Linked DNA regions of Homo sapiens: regions 1, 3, 4, 5, 6 and 7 are each linked to region 2. Evidence: promoter capture Hi-C in 16 types of primary human blood cells and fetal thymus (Javierre and others, 2016). All regions are on one chromosome and are shown on one strand. Each heading gives the region's core, a stretch centred on a gene start or on the middle of the fragment in contact. The rest is flanking DNA. Distances are from core to core; before and after follow the strand shown. Region 1 has its middle 160 kb from the start of MIR1208. Region 2 holds the start of PVT1 (Pvt1 oncogene). Region 3 has its middle 94 kb from the start of LINC00824. Region 4 has its middle 23 kb from the start of CASC19. Region 5 has its middle 78 kb from the start of LINC00824. Region 6 has its middle 110 kb from the start of LINC00824. Region 7 overlaps LOC105375751 (a long non-coding RNA gene).

The links. The method cuts DNA at HindIII sites, captures the fragments that hold promoters and counts their contacts. A CHiCAGO score of 5 or more calls a contact.
Region 1: a fragment that was not itself captured here is called in contact with the fragment with the promoter of PVT1 in region 2 in 1 of 17 cell types (total B cells); the score reaches 5.5 in total B cells.
Region 3: a fragment that was not itself captured here is called in contact with the fragment with the promoter of PVT1 in region 2 in 6 of 17 cell types (non-activated CD4 T cells, total CD4 T cells, total CD8 T cells and 3 more); the score reaches 10.1 in non-activated CD4 T cells.
Region 4: a fragment that was not itself captured here is called in contact with the fragment with the promoter of PVT1 in region 2 in 1 of 17 cell types (total B cells); the score reaches 5.3 in total B cells.
Region 5: a contact is called between a fragment that was not itself captured here and the fragment with the promoter of PVT1 in region 2, in 1 of 17 cell types (total CD4 T cells). The highest score is 5.4, in total CD4 T cells.
Region 6: a fragment that was not itself captured here is called in contact with the fragment with the promoter of PVT1 in region 2 in 4 of 17 cell types (total CD8 T cells, activated CD4 T cells, naive CD8 T cells and 1 more); the score reaches 7.3 in total CD8 T cells.
Region 7: a fragment that was not itself captured here is called in contact with the fragment with the promoter of PVT1 in region 2 in 1 of 17 cell types (endothelial precursors); the score reaches 6.8 in endothelial precursors.

What each region holds. Positions count from the first base shown.
Region 1 is chr8:128,311,747-128,315,425 of GRCh38, reverse strand. No RefSeq gene overlaps it. Among named protein-coding and RNA genes, the nearest start is that of MIR1208, 160 kb to the right of the region's middle. RefSeq lists enhancers at 1-549, 1,176-1,335, 1,234-1,917. The HindIII fragment of the contact is 2,312 bases long and covers 556-2,867 here.
Region 2 is chr8:127,793,228-127,796,712 of GRCh38, reverse strand. PVT1 (Pvt1 oncogene) reads right to left here and starts at 2,189. Exons shown (of 9, transcript NR_190187.1): 1 at 1,979-2,189. It overlaps MIR1204 (microRNA 1204), which reads right to left and starts at 751; the gene lies at 685-751. RefSeq lists enhancers at 714-1,053, 1,154-1,203, 925-1,496, 1,497-2,066, 3,209-3,485 and silencers at 2,184-2,343, 2,354-2,413, 2,434-2,483. The HindIII fragment of the contact is 6,547 bases long and covers 681-3,485 here.
Region 3 is chr8:128,656,506-128,660,183 of GRCh38, reverse strand. No RefSeq gene overlaps it. Among named protein-coding and RNA genes, the nearest start is that of LINC00824, 94 kb to the right of the region's middle. The HindIII fragment of the contact is 8,526 bases long and covers 1-3,678 here.
Region 4 is chr8:127,172,969-127,176,795 of GRCh38, reverse strand. No RefSeq gene overlaps it. Among named protein-coding and RNA genes, the nearest start is that of CASC19, 23 kb to the left of the region's middle. The HindIII fragment of the contact is 189 bases long and covers 2,221-2,409 here.
Region 5 is chr8:128,640,862-128,644,396 of GRCh38, reverse strand. No RefSeq gene overlaps it. Among named protein-coding and RNA genes, the nearest start is that of LINC00824, 78 kb to the right of the region's middle. The HindIII fragment of the contact is 559 bases long and covers 1,978-2,536 here.
Region 6 is chr8:128,676,486-128,680,121 of GRCh38, reverse strand. No RefSeq gene overlaps it. Among named protein-coding and RNA genes, the nearest start is that of LINC00824, 110 kb to the right of the region's middle. The HindIII fragment of the contact is 1,148 bases long and covers 1,477-2,624 here.
Region 7 is chr8:126,829,274-126,832,669 of GRCh38, reverse strand. All of the region lies in intron 3 of LOC105375751 (a long non-coding RNA gene), which reads right to left. The region is part of intron 2 of LOC105375753 (a long non-coding RNA gene); the gene reads left to right. Among named protein-coding and RNA genes, the nearest start is that of PCAT1, 180 kb to the left of the region's middle. The HindIII fragment of the contact is 3,615 bases long and covers 1-3,237 here.

The DNA of each region.
Region 1 (3,679 bases), core at 462-2,961, 520 kb before region 2:
CCTAGAGGCCCTGGACTTAAGGCATTTAACCTTGCTAGGAGAAATGCAATAAATCAGTAATTTCAGTGCATTCATTCATTTAACACATTTATTCAGCATCTATTATGTTCTTCGGGCTCTATCAAGCCCTGAAGATAAAGTATGGAATAAACACTTGACCAGTCTCTGCCATCATGGAGCTTTCAGCCTATTGAGGAAAGACGGGTAAGTATTTCAGAAGGGGCTAATCCAGCCTGGCGAGAGGATGGAAGTGGTTTTCAGTAAGAGCTGCACTCAGCAGCGATCACAGAGGTAGAAAAATCGCTTATCAGTGGTTCTCCAAGTGTGGTCTTGATCTGTAGCAGAAGCATCACCTAGAAACTGGTTAGAAATGCACATTGTAGATACCACTGCAGACCTCTGGAATGATAAACTCTAGGATGGGTGGGGCCCAGCAATCTGTGCTTTAGTAAGCTCCCCCAGGGGGTCTTTACACAGCCACAATTTGGGAGCCACCACCTAGAAATCCAAAAGATATAAAGCAACTTTCTCTGGCTGGGACTGATCTGGAAAGCTTAAGGCAGGAAGTGACCTATGAGCCCACCTTCAAAGGAGAGTGAGAGTTCCCCAGGAGGACAATCAGAGCTGGTGGGGAACATTCCAGAAATTCCAGGTGTTTGTGTTCCTGAGCCAGCTCGTAGTACCTCCAACCTACATATTTTTCTTAATAGATTTAGAACTAAATCGGGGGAAATGACTTATGCACAAAGTTATTAGCTGCATTTTTGCAAACAACGTAAACACCCGTCAGCAGAAGACTTGTTGAATCAACTCTGATTCATGCATGTAAATGAGGACTCTTCCTCAGTTTAGAAGGAGAGAAGTCTTTATCTACTGACTGGGAGGTGAGTTGTAAAATACAGTGCTCAGTACAAAAAGCCAGCTGCAAAATCATGCTACCTTGTCTGTGAAAAAATAAAACCATACATATATGTGTAGAATACTGCAGAGATGCATAAGAAACCAGTAACAGTAGTTTGCCTCTCAAGTGGCGAATTTAAGGAAGCAGGATAGGAGAGGCGGGTGATCTTCACTGGACACCACTTTGCACCTTTTCAATTTTGTTTTATGTACATAGGGTTACCAATGTAAAGAAACAGGAGAGATATCCTCTTCAATAGGCGAACAAGTGGAGGGGAGAGGAGAAGGCGCCTGTTCTGAACACCCTCTCTCAATCTCACCCCTGTGACACCTCTTGGGGAATTTGGCAGGGTGGGGGATGTGACAGGGAGGGGTGCTCGGTGTGGTGTTATATTTATTGCTTTCAGTACCTATTTTGTTCTAACAGGATGTGCTGCTTAGGGTCGCAGCCCAGGACCAAAGTAATAAAAAGGTTGCTGTTCTTGTTACAAACCTTGAGTTCCTGGTATTTGGGAAATGGTCACTGAATAGAGCAACAGCGGGGGTGGGAGACAGAGGTGCAAGAATTGGGGGAGGGGCACAAACAACCACTGTGGTGGGAAAGGGGCCCCATGGGGAGCTCCATTCAGAAAAAGAACAATTGGTGGTTTCAGGCAGCTGAGCTGAGAGCAGGGAGGGAAATGAGACAGCCTATGAGAGAGGAAGACACTGACCCTTGCCACTATCCAAAAAAGGAAACAAAAAATAGGTGCAAAAGAAGTGGCTTTTCATACAAAACGCTTCTTGGTTTAGCAGCTTTTGGCACTCTCAGAAAAGATTATCTTGACATCTCTTTTCTATCTCGGCTTCCCCATGTCCCTGGAAAGAGAGGGAGCTCACCTGGGATTACAAAGCACCAAGTACGCATCTCGTTCTGCTTACTGTCCCTTTTTGTGGTCACCTTGAATCCTCTCCAAATCTCTTCCAGAAAAACATCCATTTTGCAGATATGAAACTGAGGCTTCGAGCAGCAAAGTAACTTTCCCAAAGTGGTCATAGTGGAGCCAGACTTTGAACCCAGGTCTTTCAGACTCTAAAGCCTCTACTACACTTTGCTGCACTTGCTATACGATTTTAGACTTCTCATTTTGCCTCTCTGATTTACAGTGTCAAGTGTAGTGTTCATGTTCACTGTACAGGCAGAGATAGAGAGAGAGAGAGAGAGAGAGAGAGAGAGATGGTGTGCTACACTTAGCTAAGGAAAGATCTCTTCTCAGACTCTGAAACCACTCTACTTGGAATCAGCCACTTGGGCCCAGACTCAGACCCCTGGATTTGAAAACTGCAGTTGAAGGGAGCAGAGAGCATGGTGATGTTTCCAAGAAGACAAAAAAAATTCACCAAGGAAATCCTGTTTAAGACAGAGGAAGGATTCCCAGTATTTATCTGAGCTAGTAACCATGGTTTGTATTTGCTTCTGTAAAATACTGGTTTATCAAGTGCATGTACATGACGGCAATCTTGAGCCCACCCATCACAGGAGTTTTCTCCCGTCTTCATATTGGCCAATAGCCAGGTCTACACAGCTCTCCAGCTCCAAGAACATTGTCAAGATAAAGGTTTATTTGGAAGGGATGTGACCTTCTTTGGGGTTTCAACAAAACCCTGCAGATGGCTTTAAACTGAAAGGCACCTTGACTCAAATAAGATATGACATCTCTGGAATTTGTTCGTTGAATCATTCAGCAAGGTTCATTGAAGACCTATTGCATCCTAAGGATACAGAGATGACTAAGAGATAATTCCAGTCTTTACACAACTTATAGACACTAACATATACAAGTGTAGCAGCAAAAGATGAACTCTAAAACAGAGACCTCAGCCAAGGCTACGGAGCACAGTGTGGCAAGTGGTCAATTCTCTCCAGGACTGGGGCAGTGAAGCAGAGGTGAAGAGTGGGGAATTGTAAGAAGCCTCTAAAGGAAGCTTTGAGATAAGCCTAGCAGAATGGAAAAAAAAATAAAATAAAAGGCATTCCAGGTAGAGAGAAGAGCGTGAGCAAATTTTTGGAGGCTTGAAAGTTTATTATTCATGCAAAGATGTTGCTCATACAGGAAATCTGTCTCAAATTTTTTGCCCTGCTACCAACTTGCTATATGATTTTAGACATCTCATTTTGACTCTTTGATTCGTAGTCTCAAGTGTAGTGTTCATGTTCACCGTAGAGGCACAGAGAAAGAGAGAAACAGAGAGAGACTTATTTCCATTTATGGTAAGAAGGGATACAGAATTGCATTGTCAGAGAGAGTCCTAGCTGGATTTATCACAACCTCTAGGAATCTCTCCATGAGACACACATGTTTGACTAAAAGGCCAGGGAGGAAGAATTCCAAGGTTAGCTAGTGGTTGTCATTCATATTGCCTCATATTTGAGATCTATGATCAACTTCTCAAGAAAAGAGGAAGTAAGTATGAAAAAGGCTCAACAGCTGAAAGTAGCCAGTCTTGGCAGAATTGATTGCTGGTGCTCTGGGAGAGCCAAGAGATGGAGTTGTCCCTTAGATTCATGTTGCTTTCTCATGCTAGACCACTGGCAACCTCCCTCTTTTACTGACCAGACCCAGCTTCAACATCAACTCTTCCTACATTCCTTCCCTGACCAACTAAGAGAGGTCAGGTACCCTCTCTTCTGTGCTTTCTAACACTACCTGCTTCCTTCACTGTAGCCTTTAGCATACTGAATTGTAATTGCCTACTTACTATTTAACACCTCTCACTAGACTGTACATTTCATTAGGAC
Region 2 (3,485 bases), core at 940-3,439:
ACTATCCAAAGTCTTCCACTTCCCCCAGATATTCTGCCAATACTCTGCCCAAATGCAGGGCCACTCACACAAACAGGAGGAAAGAACAGGGTGTCTTATAGTCCAGGAGATCTCTTGACAAAGCTGCCAGAGAAACGTGTCCATCTTGGGCAGGCAGAAGGCCCAGGCATGGCAAACACAGGCTCCAGAATCCAGCCAGAGTGCCTGCCTACCGCTCAGGAGGCGGAAAAAAAAAACAACTAAAGAACAGGGAATTGATTTGATGTGGGCAGTGAGAATTCACCAGGTTTTCAGACCAGCAATCATATAAACTAGTGGGGATCAGATATGTCAGAACAGAGGGGAGAACTCCTCCTTTCCAGTGCAGAAAAGCTCCAGCCACAGAAACACAGCATGGAGGTGGCGAGGGGCGGGGGAAGGTGTTTAAGACAGAGGAAAAGGAAAGTTAATCAGAAAAAAAACAAAACAAAACAAAAACGGACTTCTATTTTTCAAGAGAAGCCGTTTATGCAAAAATTCTGCACTCAAGATAGATGAGGCAACAAGAATAAGCCACTCTTAACCAGGCAAAACAGCAACACAACCACTTAACAAATCCCTCTGGGAATTCAATGGGTACAGCATATACCCCACAGTCATACCCGTAAGTGGAATTCCAGTTGGGCCCTTGTGCCGAAGCTTTAGACCACGAGGCACGTCCTCACCTCCAAGATGTAACTCATCTCAAATAATGGAGACCAGGCCACGAGGTTTCTCCCAGACACGGATTCTGTATTTGTCCTTCTGCAGCTTCCGGGAAGGTTTTTCTCCTAATAAATCCTGTAGAAAGTTCCACTCAGGGTTCTGAGGATTGATACAACCCCCTTCTTGACTGATCAGAGCTTTAGAAAGATTCGCTATGACCACAGGACTGTGTCAAGTTGAACAAGTCTCAACTTGTCGCTGCCAGTATGCAAAATAGGTCTGAAACATCTTATAACAGACAACACAGCAGACACAGTCCCTGCATCCTCAGGGCCCCCGCCCACCCACCACACACAAACACATTTCTCTAGAGTTTTTTTTTCCTAGCAAGGAACTAGCCCCAGTAGCCAGGATTCACAGTGGTGGAGTGGGCGAGAGACAGGCTAACAGCCTCTCTCTGGAAAACCTAATACCAGAAAGGAAACACCAAAACCTCATCCTCTTGTCCCTAAATCCTTGCACGTGATTTCTTCTCCTCTCTAATGTTCTAGAAGGGCCTAAAGTCAGGAGCTTAGATGAACAGAAGAATCTTCCATGCCTGCAAACCACCAGGAAAAGGCATGAGGCATCCACACACAGACGCATGCAGCTTCATGGCTGTGCTTCCTGAAAGTCTACACCCAGAACCACAAACACTGGCATAAATAAGAGCACGTTAGCAAGAGAAGGCAAACCTAATTAAATCAACAGCCCAGCCAAGAAGAATGACCATGATGAGGGTTTAGGAGCACCCAACAAACCCTCACATGCGATGCAAAAACTGAGAAAGTCTCAAAACACGGAGTTACTGAGTTTTTGGAAATCACCTTCGCCCAGCCCTGAGGGGGTGTGAGAGGAAGCGGGGAGTGATGGTCAAAGGATGGAGGGAGGATCACACATTCACAGACCTCTAGTTTCGCCAGAGGGGCCTCCAAACCACATCATGGCTCCAAATCTGTTCTGACTGCAGAGGGGTCTATTTTTAGAAATTAGTTAATATGCCTTTGATCAAGTTCATAAATCCAGAATTGCCTCTATGCACCGGCCATTCGGTGTCATCCCCCTCCCCTCACCCTCCCCAAACGCCCAAACTCGCCACCAGTCTTGAGGCTGGTGATGAGGACAGTGCACGCCTAGCACACACATATTGGATTCCGAAAGCCCCTTTCCTCCGTCCGACTACTCACAGCGCATCCCTACTCAGGGCCAAGTCTCGAGAGTTTCCAGAAACGCAGGGGACAAAATTGGAACTTACTGGAGGGCAGATCTGGCCGTGTCTCCACAGGTCACAGGGACCGCCAACATCCTTTCCGCAAGGAAATCCACTGGAAGGTGCCGGGGGTCCCGGGGCACATCTTTGCTCGCAGCTCGTCGTCGCCCCTCCTCGTCCCGGCCGCCCCGAGCCCGCCCGGCCCGCGGGCCCATGTGCTCGGCCGCCACACGCGCTCTGCCCGGAGGAGCGCGGGGCTGGCGGGTTGCCCGTGACGTCACGGCGGCTCGCGCTCGGGCCTCGGGGGAGGGGGGAGGCGCGCGCGGCCCGGCCCGCCGCGTGCGTCCTCGGTCCCGGCGCTCCCGGCCTTCCCCAGGTCCCCGCCCGCCGCCCGGTGCGCCCCTCAGCCTGCTTCCCGGCAGCGCAGGGCACTGAGCCGGAGAGGGCCGCGCGCGGAGGCGGGGCGGGCTTGGGCGACTGCGGCCGCCAAGGGCCCAGACTGGGGGAGCGGAGGGTAGGCTCTGCCCTGGGCTGGGGGTCCTCGCTACAAGCGCGCCGGAGTCCCACCGGGCCGGAGGGAATCCCCGGTGATGCCAGCTCGCTTGTGCGCCGAGCTTTCCACGGTCTTTCCCTGAGCCCTCTTACCCTTCCCCACACCGTCCTGGAAGCAAGCGGTCTTCCCACTTTCCTGCTGAGGAAGGCGAGTTCAGTGAAATAGGAGGGCCAGAGATGCTCCGGGATAGGTGCAGTTCCCGCAGAAGACCGCCGACTGAGCTCCAGCTCCAGTGATCTGAGCGCCTCTTTGGGTACCACCCAGCATCCGCCGGCCTGGTGAGAAGGGCGCGCGCACCTTCTCGCCTCCTTCGACGTCTCCCGCTGTTTCCAGAAGCCGAGTTGCAAACCCGTGCAGAGGGCCAGCGGTCTGCGCAGCTCCCTCCACTCCGGGCAGAGTTGACCTACAGAGTGTGTTCAACGAGTCCCTTAAATGCCCAGTAGTTCCTCCAAAGGAGCAAGTGGACACTGGCCTCCCATGTGGGATGTGGTTATCTTGTTCTATCTGCATAAACCCGAGACTGGACAGATGTAAGAGCTGCCCCTGTTCAGTTCAAAGTTTATTTTATTTATTTATTTATTTATTTATTTATTTATTTATTTAGAGATGAAGTTTCACTCTGTCACCCAGGCTGGAGTGCAGTGGCCCGATCATGGCTCACTGCAACCTCCGCCTGCCTGGTTCAAGCGATTCTCCTGCCTCAGCCTCCGGAGTAGCTGGGATCACAGGCGCGCGCCACCACGCCCAGCTAATTTTTGTAATTTTAGCAGAGACAAGGTTTCACCATGTTGGCCAGGCTGGTCTCGAACTCCGAACCTGAGATGATCCACTCGCTTCGGCCTCCCAAATTGCTGGGATTACAGGCGTGAGCCACCACGCCAGCGCCCGTCCAGTTCAACGTCTACTGAGCACTTAAGGGGAGTCAGGCACCCAGCTAGGCAATGGGGTGGGGGTTACTCATGGACCCTAGAAGGACGTCACAAACCAGCAAAAATTGGA
Region 3 (3,678 bases), core at 231-2,730, 860 kb before region 2:
TGTGCTTCACTCTGTAAGTGTTTATTTAAAACCAGTGAAAATATGGGTGCTCAACATTAGAAAACCACTTAACAAGAGCTAAAGGCCAGATACGAATTCTCTTTTCATCCTAATAGGTAACACTCCGGAACACCTTTATATGACTGCAGGGATGGAGGGGATTGAGGGTTAAGCAGGAGAAGTAACAGAGGGGAAAGGATTACATTTTCCCCACATAAGATTAGTTTTGCCTATGGTTTAAAAAAATGCAACCAATTCTAATCTGGATGTAGGTATTTCTCAGTGACTGGGCCTGTTTGCAAGCTCGAGCCCCTTTTTCAGAGAAAGCCGGAAGCTGTGTTTCACTGTAGATGGGAACTTAAAAGCAGCAGCTATATATAGCTCTATAGCCTTAACACACACACACACACACACACACACACACACACACACACACACACACACACACACACACGGCCTCTAAAGAGCCCTAAACTTTCTGTTTCAATCACCTTTAAGTTCTACATAACCCTCATTTTCTGGCGGGAAACTTATTAAGCAAATTTTCAGGGGAGATATCATAAAATGGAGGCCATGATGATGTTTCTTGTGCAATGTACTGAGAGAAGATGTAGCACAGGACCAGACAGCGGGAAGGAGATTACAAGGCTACTTTTTTACTTGAGCTGAGCTAAAAGGAGTCTCCTTCCACATTGAGTCTACAATGCAAACTCACCTACAGCTGCAAAATCAGTGAGACGGGAAAGATGTTTTGCAATTTTCAACATTGGCAGCTACTAAAAGTGATTAGCTGTTTTTTTTTGTTTGTTTGTTTGTTTTTAAATAGCCACCTGAATAGGTGGCTACACCTCTATAGAGGGTAGATGTGGTTAGAAGATGCCTCCAAAGGAGAAGTGGAGGCACAAAACACTGAATATATATTGGAGTCCTTGAAAAGTATGTTGCAGTCACTAGCAGGAATTGTTCCAAAGCAGGAATTGTTCCAAATTCCAAAGCAGGAATTTACTTTTCCCTCTTTGCCCTTCTGGGAGGATGAGCCAGCCCAGTGCATGAGAAGTACTTATCTAGATCACTTTCATTTTATTAGCAACTCTTGCACGCTCTGTCCAACAGCAGCCAGATGAATTCTCCTTCCCTGGGCCACTTAGTCACAGCTCCCCTCTCAAGAAATGCATTACTTTCCCCTTGCTGATCCCAGAGGTTTGGCTTGTTTGCTCTCTTTTTCATAGCTGCCACTCTCAACTTCTCCGTAAGGGGCCTCTTTGTTAGAGTGGAGCTCTGCCTCTCCAGCTACCTCTTTTCTGCATCTCTTGAAGGCCAGGACACCAAACCAAAAGTGTAAGACCATGAAATTGCACAGGGCAGGCAGAGCGGTGAAGATCTCAGACTCTGAAATCAAACATATCTGGGTTCAAATAGGGTTCCTCCTGTTGTAAAACTGTGCGATTTTAGCCAATTCTTTGTCTCAATTTTTTCATTTGTAAAATTAGAACAAAAATAGGACTAATGTGTCACAAAATGCATGCAAGGTTCATGGCACATAGTAAGGACTTAATACATTTTAGTTATTAGTATTAGTGTCACCATCATTATAATTACTGTCATTACCATCATCATCATTGTCTTCTTTAATCATTATAAAGAAGTAGACAAAAAATGAAAATCGGAAATTAGGAAATTTTTAGGAATTTTAAAATCTTACTAAATTCTCACAGATTTTTTTCCTTAGAATATGTCTTAATCCCTTTATTTAAATGGCATCACTAGAAACTTATTTCTCAAGAGAAGATGTAAATTTACATGGAGGAATCAGTAAGAAGAAGGAAAAGGTCCATGCCTTCCCCACCTCCACCACCTGGTCCAGCTGGGCCCAGGTGAAGGCCTAAAGGAAGCAGAGCAGGGGTGTGGCCACCTAGGGTCTCCTGGCAGGCAGCCTCTCACTTCCCTTTTGCCCTGTACTGAGCTCAGCACTTGGACTTCCCTTTGCTTTCTAATTCCCACTCTATATTCACAGTAGGCTCTAGTGCTGTGGTTTATTTTCTTAATTGCTTCCCTGTCTAGACTACAGGTGCTTCTGGAACAGGGAGTGTGTTTTGTTCAGCTTTGTGTTCTTCCTGCCAAGCACAATGTTGACTAACTGATTGTTTACTGTTTTTTGTCTACTTCCTTGTAATGATTAAAGAAGACAATCATGATGATAGGGACAGCAACTACAATGGTGATCAAGATACCAATAACTAAGATTTATTAAGTCTTTGCTAGACGCCTTACTGCTACCTCTCTCAGTCTCACTTTAAGTTCCTCTTCTATCAGTGCAGAATCACATTAGGAAAGAATCATAGATGTAAATAACTCCTTCCCAAACACACATACTCATTCTAATGGACAAATGGGCGAATGGGCTCCAAGAGGGACTATCTGGCATGAGATCTCACAGCAAATGAGCAAGTGGCAGCAGCAAGGCCAAGATACAGGTCTCAGGGCTCCTAGTTGCATACAGTCTCTGTGTTCAAGGGCTCACGGGCTCCATTTATGATTTGGGGGAACCCCAGATAGGTGACTCACCACAGAGAACTACCTTGTTTCCACAGGAAGGATCACCTGCACTCCTCTGTCATGCTCTTCTTGGTGAAAACTGCCCCTGAAATTCAGTGACCACATCCTCTCTTTGTCATTTACACCTTACTGGGGTCTTCCCCTTTCTCCTTCCCCACCTCCACTTTCAGCAAAATCAGCTCATCCTGGATATCAGCCAAATTCTTTTGTTCTAATGTAAGGGTGAGTACTAAAAATGTCAAGTCTATGTGATTTCAGAGGGGCCTTACAGAGGCCAGCGTCTCTAATCAAAGAAATGATTGCATATCTTGGTGTCAGGAGGGCAGATATGAATGGTGGCATTTCCAGATCATTATGGAGTCTGGGGAGTATTGTGCTGCCAGACAGGATACAAACACTGTGCATCTTGTACCCTTGAATGTGTTGATGGTCCAGACAATTGGTGAGTGCAACATGTATAGTCTAACCCAGAGGCTACATAATGTTCCCCATTAGTATCCAAAGTCTCAATCACACTACCTGTTCCTTCCACTGAAGTAGAAATAATAGAATTGGAAGTAACTGTTATGAGAGCTATTATTTGTTTATTGACTTCTTACTATGTGCAAGTGAGATATCTTGTCTATCATATCATGTATATTTTAGTAAACCTCAGCAACTCTTCAAAGTGGGAGTTAATATGAAGAAAACCAAACTCAGAGACATTGAATAATGTTATATGGTTTATAAGTGCTCTGAATCCAGGCCTGCCATACTCCAAAGCCTATTCCCTTGCATTTCCCTATGTGGCAGTCATGATCACATAGATTTGTTTGGCAGAGATATAGGAAGGCATGGCTTTAGAGACGGGACTATAGGGAGAGAGAATGCCTTGCAAGAGATCACCGATGGGAGGCCTATGGGTCCCTTTTGTGTTTTTCTGTTTTCTTTGGGAACCAAGGTATTTGAAAGAGAATGTAGCTAAGTAAGGCCAACTGCTATCAATCTGAGCAACTTGCTCCCTTTGTCTTACACCTGTCATGGCTCACAAATTTGTGACACCTGTCAGTAACTGGAGGCATTTGAGGATTTAAGCCTGGAGAAGAACTCAGAGTATAGTGCTGGCCAATTGCATCCTGGGAT
Region 4 (3,827 bases), core at 1,066-3,565, 620 kb after region 2:
CTCTGCATCATCATTCCTGATTCAAAGTGAAGTACTCTAAGCCTCCCACAAAGCTTCTGTCCATTCAGTTCATTCATGCGTTCATTAATTTTTCTACTTCATTTATTTATTCATGCAATAAATATTTATTGAGTACGTATTTTGTTTCACTCTTCTTTTTGTTGATACATAATAACTGCATATTTATGAAGTTCGTGTGATATTTTGATGCATGCATATAATATATAATAATCAAATAGGGGTAACTAGGATATCCATCATCTCAAATATTTATCATTTCTTTGTATGGAAAACATTCCAAGTCTTCTCTTCCAGGTATTTTGAAATATACAATAAATTATTATTAACTATAATCACCCTAGTGTGCTATTGAACCATAAAACTTATTTTTTCTAACAGTATTTTTGTAACTAACAAGCCTCTTTATCGCCTCCCCTATCAGCCTTTGGTAAGCACCATTCCACTTTCTACTTCCATGAGATCAGCTTTTTTAGCTCCCATATATGAGTGAGAATGTGCAATATTCATCTTTCTATGCCTGGCTTATTTCACTTAACATAATGTCCCCCAAGCTTACCCATGTTACTGAAAATTACAGGAGTTCATTCTTTTTTATGGCTGCATAATATTCCATTGCCAGGCACTTTTCTTGATGCTGGTATAATAAAAGAGGCATTCTTGCCCTCATGGAGCCCATGTTCTAGTGGATCAAGGAGGCAAAATATATAGGAAACCTAGATAGCACAAGGGAGAATATTAGCAGCTCCAGGTCTATTTGGCAAGGTTAAGCTGTCTGCATGGAACCCTAGCCAGCAATGGCCAAATCAAGAATGGTTTCCTGCGCATGGCTAGTTCCTGCTGTATCTGGTGTCAACACTGAATGGTGGAATGTTGACTGCTCTGAAGGTTTTCCTTGATGCCCTTCAAACTGGCCTGGCCAAAATAATTGGACTCTTCTCTCACTTCCTGTCCCAGATTTTATTTCACCAAGACTAAAGTTTTGCCTTAAATGTTCAAGCTTCACTTGAAAACTTGTTCCCTGATCTGCTCTTTCCAGGTCCCACTGGTAGAGATTGTTCCTGGTCTTTCCTCCCCTAATCCTGGCTAAAATACTGCTTTAAGATGGAATCATTACCATGGCATTTCCATTTCTCTGTTTTTTTTTTCAACAATTTATTTATATACATTAAAATAGAAATGAACTACATGCTGTATATGAAACATTTTCCTGGGAATTGGGGATATAGAAGTAAATGATACTTTTGATCTAACATGATTTACCATGTTTCACATGATATTTCTTACGTAGCAGCTACTCAATCCTCTTTTGTCCTATTTGTCAATATAAAATTGTTTTCAAAAACTTTAAATGTCTTATGAATTTGTCAAGGATTTCCTGTGGCTGTAGATATGCTTTTGTGTGTGGGGTGTGTGTGTGTATGTGTGTGGTATATGTGTGTGTGTATGGGTGTGTGTGTGTATGTGAGTATTGCTGTGTGTATGTGCATGTGTTTGTACATGTGTATATGTGTGTGTGTGGTGTGTGTGTGTGTTTTGCATGTCCTTCTAGGTTGCCAAGCACAACATCATGTGAAAATAAGGAATTTTGAATAAGAAGATATACATGCAATATAAATTATTTCTGTAATGGTATAAATTTTTGTGCTTAATGTTATGGACACTTTTGAAAATGGTAGCTAAATCAATGTTGAGTCACTTTATTTGCACCCGTAAGATATCAGGAATTATGCAGAGTTGATGCATGTGCAAAGGTGTCTGTTATAGTTTGGATGTTTGTCCCCCTAAACCTCATGTTGAAATTGGATCCTAATTTTGAAGATGGGGGCCTAATGGGAGGTGTTCAGGTCATGGGGGCAGATTCCTCATGAATAGATTAATGCCTTCCCTGGAGTGGGAGGAGAAGTGAGTGAGTTCTCACTCATTAGTTTTCAAGTGAACTGGTGGTTAAAAAGAGCCTGGCACCTGCCCCCCTCCCTTTTGCTTCCTCTCTCACCATGTGGTCAGTTCACACCAGCCTTTCCTTGCCTTGTACTGTGAGTGGAAGCAGCCTGAGGGTGTCATCAGAAGCAGATGTTGGTACCAGGCTTCTTATAGTTTGTAGAACTGTGAACCAAAGAAACCTCGTTTCTTTATAAATTATTCAGCTTCAGGTATTCTTTTCTCACAACACAAAATGATCCAGGACAGTACCTAAAAGCTTCAATTTGCCATTTGATTCTTTCTATGAGATGACTAGATTTTTTGGGAGGACAGGTCTATCTATCTGGAAAGAAGCCGTTTGGAATGGAAGCAGTATGAAACAAGCATAATTTTCTTGGTTTAAGCCAACCTTATTATAAGCCCCTGAATCTTACAACTTTATTACATTTCTGCAAATATCCAGAAGCTTATGTATTTATTATTCTTTCAGGCTCTTGAGTTTCTGCTTTCAAGTGACCCTCAGAAATTCCTCCATTCACTGCAGAGGTTCTGTTTCTCCTTGCTTTGTTCTGACTTTACGGCAGAACTAAGCTAATGAGTTAGTTACTATGGGTTATCACTTGGATTTGAAGAACCATCATTTCTAGGCATTGCTGCTCAGAGTGGTAAGTGGACCATTACAAATCAACATTACCTGGAAGCTTGTTAGAATTTAGAATCTTAGGCCCTATCCAAGACCTACTGAATCAGAATACAATTTAACAAGATCCCCAGGTGCAGTATAGTTTGAGAAGGACTGAGAGTCTAGAGGAATGGCAGATGCAAGGCAATAGGAAGGTCCATGCTTAGGGTTGTGGGGAGATACAGGTTCCCACACCTCTTCTCACCTAGATCCTCCATAAGAGCAGAATTTACTGATAAATTGTTTTGATTTTAGGATACTGACTGCAGACCTGGGACTAGGGTAATGTAAGTGAGGCTCACAGGGTGCAACATTTCCAGAAGCACCCACTCGCAGGTGCTGACCCTGCAGGTGTCACAAATCTGAGAATCCATGCCTCTGTAAAATTTTCACCTGAAGGGCCTTGCTCGCCTCACCCTCACCTTGCCCTGTGGAGTGCTCAATTTGACTATTAAATGGGAGCAACAGTTGTTGAAACGTTATCTACCTGTGGGCATCTCTGCTCTCTCCTTCCATTCTTTATGACAAAAGACCCTCTAGAAGTCTCTCTCTCTCTCTCTCTCTGTGTCTCTGTGTGTGTATGTGTTTTCTCTGTGTGTGTGTGTGTGTGTGCGTGCATGTGTGTGTGTCCTTCTACACTTTTGCAACTCTTCTGTGGTTTGATAAGAAAACTGAGAATTGGAGAGCCCCTCTAGTCTATTAGTTGGGCCATTTATGTTCAGTTTACTAAGACTTTGGGGCATCAATCTAGCTCAGAAAACTCCAGACCTTTGTTTATCTTTTCTCCTTCATCTTCAAGCATGAATTTTCCCAGATATCTCATAGAGGGGTTGTTGAGAAACGGGGTAGGATTCAGACATTCCTGCAATCCCAGTTTCTTACTAGAGAGTTCCACATTTAGAGATATTTGGGGTTTCTCTGGTTATTTATGGTGTTAGTTTATTTTCTATATAGTTAATGCTCCCTGGAGCATGGTTTCCACAGCAGAAAACTCTGAGAGGAGGACAGCTGAGTGGCTGGGTTGCCACAATACCACCAGGGCTGGGGTAGGCTCCTGCAACTTTTAAATCTTCACTTTCCTCCTCTATAAAATGAGAATGACACTAATTTCTACTCTGTAGAATGAATGAGAAGATTACATTAACAAATTCATGTGAGTATTTCAAAAAAGACTATGCAAATATTATTAACCTCTTGATTGAGT
Region 5 (3,535 bases), core at 1,008-3,507, 850 kb before region 2:
AGGGTTCAAACTTGGCTCAGTCTAAATCTAAAACTCATTCCTTTCTACTGTCAGAAAAAGTTTTTTAATTGAAGGCTTCAGAAGGATTGCTTTTGAGAAGAAACATGAGATGTTGTGACTATTTCTAAAAGAAAGGAATGAATGTTAACAGAGGTTTATAAAAGCAAAATTATTTTGGTTGTGGCTCCCCAAGCAATGAGTCAATTATGCACATACTGAGTTAAAGAAGAAGGAGAAGAAAATAGAAGACGACCATGATCTCTGATTAGATATTTGGTTAGCTTGATAGAAAATGAGTACTGAAATAAAGTAGAGATGGAGATGAAGATCAAATATACAAAACAAAGTTGGAGCAGGGAAAAAATAGAATGAGAGAAGATAAAAAATAGGAGAGAAAGAATAAAATGAGAAGATAAGAGAAGAGAGGAAGGAAGGAAGAGACAAGGAAAGAAAAGTAAATAGAAAAAGGAAAGGAAAGAGAAGAAAGGAGGAGGGAAAGGAAGTGAGAAAGGAGGAAAAAAAAATCAATATCCCTCTTTGTAATAAATACGCTGTGAAATCACTTACGGAAAAATTGAGTAGATGTAATTTTCCCTATTCTCCCTGCTAAGTAAAACAAAAAACTCTGTGTATTATACATAAAACCATAATAAGAATACTCTGACAGGTAGAGTCAAGGCAGACAAGCTAGGGAGCAAGGAATGATATGGTGATGAGTTTCCTGAATTTTGTTTTTGCTTTACATTTCCCAGATTAGAACTGAAGACGTCAGCAACCCAAAAATGTCAATGGGCACAGATTAAATAATTATTATTAATAATAAATAAATAATTAAATCTGTTCTCTTGAGTGAAAAAAGCAGGAAAGGAGCCATCTAGCAAGTCAGAAATATTGTACATAGTAAATTTACTATTCTAGCCAAACACCAAACACCACAGTATATGTTGTGGCTTTATCCTTACACATGACAACAAAGGCTGAATGGGGAACTCAACTTTCACCCTTATCTGGCATTAACAAGGTATTCTAACCTCCCCACTGTGATGGTTTCAGAGAAGGCTGTGTAGGGAGTCTATGCTTCCATTCCCACCTGACAATAATGCAGCACCACTACACTCCTTCCTGGATTTATGCCAGAGGAATCCCAGTAGAGAGTCAGAACTTTTACTACTGCCCAAGAATAACAAAGCTAAAACCCTTGTGGTGTTGATGGTAGAAGACGGGTTGATGTTGAACACATCTTCTTTAGAACTTTTACTACTGTCCAACAGTAACAAGGCTAAAACCCTAAATGGTGTTGATGGGAAGAAAAGATCCTGAATCATTATTGCCAGATGAAAGTAGATGTTCAGATTCCCTTGTTAGCCTTTGTTGACACTCAAGGGAGGAGGCTCTTTGTTAATGCTGCAGATAGTGGAAGTTTTGGCTTCTCACTAGGTCTACACTGATATCTCCCAGACCAAGAGGGGTAGGAGTACATCAGTGGAGACCCCGTGAGGAGCCAAGACTTCCACTATACCCAGTGTTAACAAACAGCCTCCTCCCTTGGGTGTCAACAGAGGCGAAGAAGGAATCTTGACATCTACTTTCATCTGACAATAATGATGCAGCATCTCTTCTTCCCCTGCTAAAGTACTATCAAAATAATTTAGCTAAAATATAAGATTTACATAATATCCAGAATCTTATAACATAATACTGAAGATGTCCTAGGTTTGAAAAATAAGTAATTTGTCACAGCAAAAACCAGGAAGATCTCAAACTAAATAAAAAAGTCTCTAATTAATGTGAAGACTAAGGTGAAAAAGATATTAGCTTATCTAAAAAAATTTAAAGCTGACATCAGAAAAATGTTCTAACCAGCAATTACAAAGGTGCTTAAAACAAACAGAAAAACAGAAAGTCCCAACAATAAAATAAAAAATCTCTGACAGGAAATCGAAGACATTAAGGAGAAACAAACAAAAAGGGTAAGCTTAAAAATATAATAACCAAGTTAAAAATCTCAATGAATGGCTCAACATCAGAATGGAGGGAAAGGAAAGAATCATTGAACTGGAAGATAGGATAACAAAATTGCCCATTCCAAACATACACTGTTCCAGAAAATAGACTGGAGAAAATAACAGAGCCTCAGAAACACATTGAACTATTTTTTGAAATGCTAAAAAAGGGGCTAAAAATTTCCCAAATTTGAGAAAATACATAAATAGAGAGATTCAAGAAACTGAATGGATTTCAAACAGAATAAATCTAAAGAAATCCACATCAAAATACATAATAGTCAAAATTCTAAAAACTAAAATTAGAAATCTTGAAAGAAGTGAAATAAAACACCTTACCTATAGGGAAAAACACTTCTAATAATAACAGATTACTCATTAGAAACTATAGTGGTCAGGAGAAAGTGACAATAATTTTCAAGTATAAATATTCCTTGACTTATGACGGGTTTACATACTGATGAACCCATAATATTTTGAAAATATGCCAAAAATGCATTTAATACACCTAACCTGCTGAACATCAGGAAGCTTAGCCCAGTCTTCCTAAAATATATTCAAAAACTTACATTAGCTTATAGTTGGGCAAAATTATCTAACAAAAAGCCTATTTTATTGTGTTGAATAACTATTGTAATTTATGGAGTATAGTACTAAAAGTGAAAAACAGAATGGTTCTATGGGTACTGAAAGTGCAGTTTTTACTGAATGAGTATTTCTTTTGTACCATAGCAAAGTTAAAAAGTTATAAGTTGAACTACCATAAGTTCAGGACCATCTCTTTAAAAAAGAAACAAAACAACAATAACAAAACAAAAAACAAACAAACGAAAAAACCCTGCCAACTTATAATCCTATATGCAGTAATAATATACTTCCATAATGAAGAAAAAATCAACATATCCTCATATGAACAAAAACTATCAGAATTTGTCACTAGGAGACCTACCCTAAGAAATTAGGTAAATGAACTTCCCTGAACAGAAATGAAACAATAAAAGGAACCTAAGAACATCAGTAAAGAAAAACAAACAGACAAACAGAGTAAGCAAAAATATGGGTAATTTTCTCTTCCCTTGAGATTTTGAAATTATGTTTGATGATGGAAGCAAAAGTTGTAATACTGTTTGATGTGGTTCTAAATGCATGTAGCAAAAATATTTAAGACAATTATAAACAGGAAGGTAAAGATTGTAAAAAGAGGTAAATTTTCTATACTTCACTCAAACTGGTAAAATGATGACACCAGTAATGTGTATGTGTGTGTGTGTGTGTGTGTGTACATGTATTCAAAATGTATTTAACATGCCTAACCTATTGAACATCTACAGTTATAACTACCTAGAGTTATGACATATAACAACTAGATCAACAATTAAAAATAGCTATACAAGTAGATACACTCAAAATGCAATAGATAAATTAAAATTGAATTTTAAAATACGTTCAAGTAACCCACAAAAAGGGAAAAAGCCAGTGCAGTGAAAAACAATAACAAAGAGTAAATAAAAAATGAAATGAAATATTATAAG
Region 6 (3,636 bases), core at 801-3,300, 880 kb before region 2:
TTGTTTACTGTATGTGTTGTGTGTGTGTGTGTGTGTGTGTGTGTGTGTGTGTGTGTGTCTAAGATTCAAGGGCTCTAACTTCTCTCTCCAACTGTTAAAGATAGTGTCTGAGTATGCTAAGACTCATCCTCTATCAACCCCCAAAGTTAGGAAATGGCTGAGAGGGAGAGTAGTAACTTCATCTTGAACCCAAGAAGGGTGTCCAGGGAGAGGGAGGGTTGCATACTGCCAGTTGTCAAATCTTTCAAATAACATGAGGCTCTTCATAGTTTTCAAATAAGAGAGTCAATGAAGACCAAGTTCTTAGTTCATGAGGAGGAGTTGACTTTTCAAGGGGGCTTAATGATTGGGAGGTGGACATCGAGTGGGTATGATGGTCCAAAGATCTGTAGCAGGAATGAGTCAGTCCCATAGGTTCAGAGACAGCACCTTTTGCCACTGTCAGCAAACAATGGCCTCTTTTGCAAATGGCCTTCAAATTCTGATTTTGAGGGAGAGATGGAAAATGCTATCTTCACAGCCATACTCTCTTATTGTTGTTATTGAAAATACAGTCAGAGGCCCTTACAGAGAGACACATAGGAAACAAGCTCAGTTTAAAAAACATGAAGAAAATACTCTCTTGGGTAATTTGAGTTTTCAATTCAATTTAAGTCAGCAAATATTTTTACATTTCCTTTTGCTGAGTATGTTTTGAAAATTATTCTAGATACTTTGCATTCAAGACAGTTTATAGTCTGTTTTATACAGGAAGTAAATAGAAAGAGCTATAATATTGTTTGGCTCTGCGTCCTCACGCAAATCTCATGTCAAGTTGTAATCTCCATGTGTCAGGGGAGAGTTCTTATGATATGCAGTTCTTATGATAGTGAGTGAGTTCTCACAAGATCTGATGGTTTGAAAGTGGCACTTCCCCACTCATTCTCTCTCTCTCTCCTGCTGCCATGTGAAGAAGCTTCTTACTTCCCCTTTTCCTTACCCCATGATTGTAAGTTTCCTAACATTTCCCACATGTAGATACCAATGTTGGAAATTTTATAAGAAAGGATAGCTTTTCAACTGCCCTCAAATTGCATCAGTTATAGACTAGGACACGAACAGGAAAAGCTGGCACATTTGAAGAGAATGTGACATATTGAAACATAATTATATAAGGGGCTGATTAATATTGGTCAGAAAAGCAAAGGAAAAAAGGCAAAAACTTAATTCTAAATTCTATTTTAGAGTAGTTTCTAATATCAACTTTTTATATAGTTACAATATTAACTTTAAAACAAAAAAAGATCTTTCTTTCATAGAAGAAGTATAACCTGGTTATTAAAGATAATTATGGATGACAAAATAAGCAGAAATTCAATGAAAGGAGAAAATTATCCATTGTTCCAAATCATCCCAGTGTATCCATTTTTGTAATCCTGGACTAATAATTAATTTAAATATGTAACAGATACATAATATTCAGGCACAACTAAAGCTTATTTCTAGTGTTAATGACCAATATCCACCTGACTAGGGTATAGTTGTGGCCATAAGAACTAATAAATGTTTGTTGAATTAAGCCAAAGACCTTACTTGGAAGGAGCTAGGTATATCAGTTCTTTATTACTGTATTAAAAAACTTTAAAACTGTCACTTTTAATATAACAATCAATTGCTTATGATCCTGTGGCCCAACAAATTGAGTTGGTCTTAGTTGGGTAGTTCATTTGTTGGTCTTGGTTGAAATCACTTAGGTACCTGGTAGCTCATCAAAGACTAGATAATCCAAGATTGCCTCACTCACGTTTTTGGTGAATGAGGCTGGCTATGGATTAATTGGTCCAGGGGCCCTCAGCTGGGATGATTTATCACTGCTCCTCATAGCCTCTCCTCAGGGCAGCTAGATCAGGTTTCTTTGCAGGATGATGGAAGCATTCCCAATGGACAAGAGCAAAAGCTACAAACCTCTTGGAATTTAGGTTTGCAAGTTATACAGTGTCTCATCTGAAACATTCACTTAGTCAAAGCGAAGTGTAAGGCCAGCCCAGATTCCAGGGAACGAGAAATATGTGCCACAACTTGATGGAAGGAATGGTCACACTGCAAAGGAACATGTGTTCTGGGATGTGAAAAACTGTTGAGGTCATCTTTGCAAACTATGTACCAAACTTTATTCATTGCCCTTTGACAACTCAACACTATATGCTTTATGCATGTTTATATTAGACTAATCAATGCTGAACAAATATAAAAGATTCTTAGTTTTGTTCACATTGTGCAAAATTCAGTCATTAAAGTATAAGAGATTTTCCACTGTGACTATATAAAGGTATGTCCAATAATTGTTTCTTATTTTGAATATTTCTTTGTCTGATTTTTTCCCCCAAATTTGTGCAATGCATAAACTTCAGATGGCAATGACCTCTTTAAATGAAATGGATGCATTCTAAATTGTCCTCCCAAAAGCCTATGTCACCAAAGTGGGAGGGTCTGTTTCTATGTTCCTGATTTTTATAAGAAAATTGAAATTTCTAGTCAAATGTTGCATTATGACATTTATCAGTGTTATCAAATTTATAGAATTGAGGTGAGGATTAAATCTGGCAATGTAGAGCAGCAAGAACTGTGGCTAACTCTAGGAAGCTTTCAACCTAAAAGGAAAGATTGATACAAACATGGTATCACAAGAATGAATCTTATCCTTTGAAATATCCAGCTGCTGTATGACTCCCCATAAGCAATGCTAGTCAATGCTGACTCTAGGGTTTTAATGGGAAAATCTTTAAACATGAAGATTTTCTATTGCGTCTGTGTAGAGGATCATCCATCTATACATAGAGAGATGAGCACTAAAAAAGAGAAATGAACAAGTTCCATTAAGAAATTAAAAGATGAAGAAACCACAGCTAGTTGTAGAGAGCAAGAAAGGGCCAAGATGCTTCATAAATGTTTGTTCTCTTTTTCCATTTTGCCTCTCTGAATATGAGTTTTTTTCCTCCCTGTAATGAGAGTTTTAGATTATATAATTTTGGCAGTTCCATTGAACTCTAACATTTTATGCTCACTGCATAGGCACTCAATTGGCATCATAATTTCCAATGCTAGTGAGTCAAAACTGTTCCCCACAATCTCTCATAAATAATCTACTGTTCCATGAAAAATAATTTTTAAATAACAATATATTTGCATCATTTGTATTCCTTAGAAATGACACCACCCTCATCCAAGAAAAGTTGATAAGAAGGGCTTAACCTTTCAGTTGATATCTGCGTGTAGAATAGAAAAAAAACCAACCAGTCAAAATGAAAAAATATATGTAAATTATTGGGTAGGATGGTCATTTTAATGGTATTGATTTTTCCAATTCATGATTATTTGTGTCATCTCTGATTTCTTTTAACAGTGTTTTGTAGTTGTCATTGCAGAGATCTTTCACCTCCTCAGTTAGATGAATTCTTAGGTATTTTATTCTCCTTGTGGCTATTGTAAATGGGGCTGTCTTCTTGATTTGACTTTCAGCCTGGACATTATTGGTATATAGAAATGCTACTAATTTTTGCACATTGATTTTGTAGCCCGAAACCATCTTAAAATTGTTTATCAGTTCTAGTAGTCTTTGGAAGAGTCTTCAGGATTTTCTAGATATAGAATCATAAC
Region 7 (3,396 bases), core at 181-2,680, 960 kb after region 2:
TTCCGATTTTACTCATTCTTGCCATATGCTTCCTGCCTGTGAATGTCAGTGTCTGTGTTACTCCTGATGTGTGGAACAACCTCCCAGGATTTTAAGTGTCTCAGACAACCAATCATTCCAGTCTTTTCCTTTGCCTCTTGATATGGTTTGGCTGTGTCCCCACTGAAATCTCATCTTGAATTGCAGCTCCTGTAATCCCCACGTGTCGTGGAAGGGACCCGGTAGGAGGTAACTGAATCATGGGAGCAAGATATTCCTGTGCTGTTCTCATGATAGTGAATAAGTCTCATGAGATCTGATGGTTTTTATAAAGGGGAGTTCCCCTACACACACTCTTCTTGGCTGCCACCATGTAAGATGTGCCTTTGCTTGCTCTTCACTTTCCGCCATGATTGTGAGGCCTCCCCAGCCATGAGGAACGGTGAGCCCATTAAACCTCTTTCCTTTCAAATTACCCAGTCTTGGGTATTTATTCATAGCAATATGAGAATGGACTAATACAAATTCCTATCCTACCTCCCTCCTGAACTCATGTGGCAAAGGTTTTTGCTTTTATTTATTTTTGCTTGACAATGAACAAGAGAAAATAATAGGTAGCTGAGGAAGTTAATATAGAAGACGGTTCCTATTTCTTTGCAAATATTTCCAGGAAAGTGACATAACCAGGGCTTTGAAACAAACTGGCTTTTCATTACTATTGCCTCATTGAATACTCAAATCATTTTTACTTGAGGCATACAATAAAGAGCTGCATATTGGGTGGTATAATTTTTGACTTCAGGATGTTTTAGAAGATTTGGGGTACTTCTATCTCTCATAATATTTCCCTTTTAGAAATTCATCCCCACCCCACCAACCACCACCATGTTCTTTTTGAGTTGGTCACTTATATGGTCCAGCCTGTGATGACACAGGGTTGGGACCATGACTCAAACTGGTCACAGTGTCCCATTTCCCTGGCCATAGGGATTGGTTTAGACATGAGGACATGACACAGGCCAGAAAAATCCTGAAGCCATTGACAAAAACAACCATCTGGTTTATCTGAAACTGCTAACAGCATGTGTTATAATCTTGGACAGTGTATGGAGAAGATTTAAGTGAGAATAAGCTAACACAGAAAAGCAGGAGGAAAGAGGGAGAGAGAAAGAAAGAGACTAAATGAATTTTTTGTCTTTGAATCCAGCTATGTTCAAAACTAGAGCTACCTTCTTAAACTTCCCAGATATGTAAATCTTTTAACTCTGCCTTTTGTTAAGTTGATTTCCATTAAGTTTGTGGCTCTTGTAAGCCAAAGCATTTTTTCAAATCAAATTGAATAGACATATATCACACTGATGTTAATAACATCTTAAATGAAAACAGGTTTATCAGAGTAAAGTGGAAAAAAAATGGGTTATATAGTAAAAAAAGAAAATGAAGAAAGATACAACTGAGACAATACATGATGAAAAAAGGCTCAATTTGCCAGGGAAAAAGTAGCAATCCTAAATATAAAATATATATATGTATACATACATACACATATGCGCCAAACGACAGAGCTTCAAAATAAATGAAGCAAAAACTGATAGAGTTGAAAGGAGAAACAAACAATTCCAAAATGATACTTAGGGACTCTGACATCCAACTCATGGCAAATGACAGAATGACTGGATAGAAAAGCAGCAAGGACATACAGGAAAATGACCTCACCTTGAGAAAGAACATCTGCAACACGCCTACGCAACCTCATGCTTAAAGGTGAAAAGACTCAACGCTTTCCCCCTAATATCAAGAACAAGGCCAAGACATCCACCCTCTCTGTTCTTATTCAACACAGTGATGAAAGTTCAAGCAAGCACAATAAAGAAAGAAACATAAATAAATAAAAGGCATACAGATTGGAAAGGAAGAAATAAAATATTCCAAGGAATCTACCAAAAATAAAAATTATCCTAGAACCACACAGAGCACAAGATCAAGATAGAAAATCATTTGCATTTCTTTATACTGACAGCAAACATTTGGAAACAAGTTAAAAGCACAATACCATTGGCAATTACACCAAAGAAAGTGAAATACTATGGTGCAAATCTGACAGAAGATGTAAAGGATCTCCCTTCTGAAAATTACAGGGGCCTTTTCTTAACTAGTGAAAGTTCCTTTGGGCTGTTCTCATGTCCATCTGGAATTTTTCCCATTTCCTGCCTGAATTCCTGGATTCTCGGATGATTCTTGTCTTCCTGTCAAAATCAAGAGATGTCAGATGAGGACCATGATAAAGCCAGTTGTAAGTTTTCTGATGTCTACACCAAGAAACTCACACTTAGTGGGATGTCTGCTCTCAGGTAGAACCTAACCAACCAGTTAGGAGATACCAAGAGCATAGTCTTTAATGCCTGGGAGGACGGGAGCAAGCAGAGATCTTGGTTAATAAAAGCGTTCAAAAATCTATTTGTGAAATCAATGTTTATTCACTTAATTAGAAATAAATATGTAAATAAATGGAATTCTGTCGAATAAGTAAAACCCAATTGTGGCACATGTTCTATTTTCCCTTTAGTTTTTATTTTAGTTTTGGTTGTACATATGCAGGCTGGTTCTATAGATAAACTGTGTGTTACAGGAGTTTGGTGTACATATTATGTTGTCACTCAGGTAATAAGCATAGTACCTGATAGGTGGGTTTTGGATCCTCACCCTCCTCTGATCCTCCATCCTCAAGTAGGCCCTGATGTCTACTGTTCCCTTCTTATCTGTTTTATTTTAAGCACTTTTGTATCTTAGCAAGTTGAATCCTCACACCAATTATGTCAGTCGAACATCATTATCCTCATAATATACATGAGGGAGCCAAAACCCAGAGATATTAAATAACTGTTTGAAAACAACAAAGCTAATAGAGCCTGGATTTGCACCCATATCCCTGACTCCAAAATGTATACTCTTAAGCAATATGGTACCCTGCCTCCCAAAATTCTCAGAACATCCTATTCTAGTATAGTCATGACTGCCAAAGCAGAAAATAGCATGTAAAGTCAACAAATATAAATCAAATATCTTCAGTGAAGGAGAGACTGAATGATCCACATCTTAAAAATATGGAAATACATGCAAGCCTCATTTGCTAGAATAAACTTTGAGTAATGCTGAGTAAGCCAAACACTTTGGAAGTACTGGCAGCAAAATAAGCAACTACATCCTAAAAGGACAGAGGTCATTAAATGCTAAAAGAGGAAAAAAAAAGTATAAGCTTATTCTTGCTTCCTCTGGACAAAACTGGGGTCAATCTGTAGAAGCTACATGGAGAGAGTTCTCAGCTCACGGTCTGAGAAATTCCCAAGGAAGAATTTACAAAATTATTTCTTACAAAATGCTTTTCAATAATTATCTAACAAAATTACAATTTCTCTA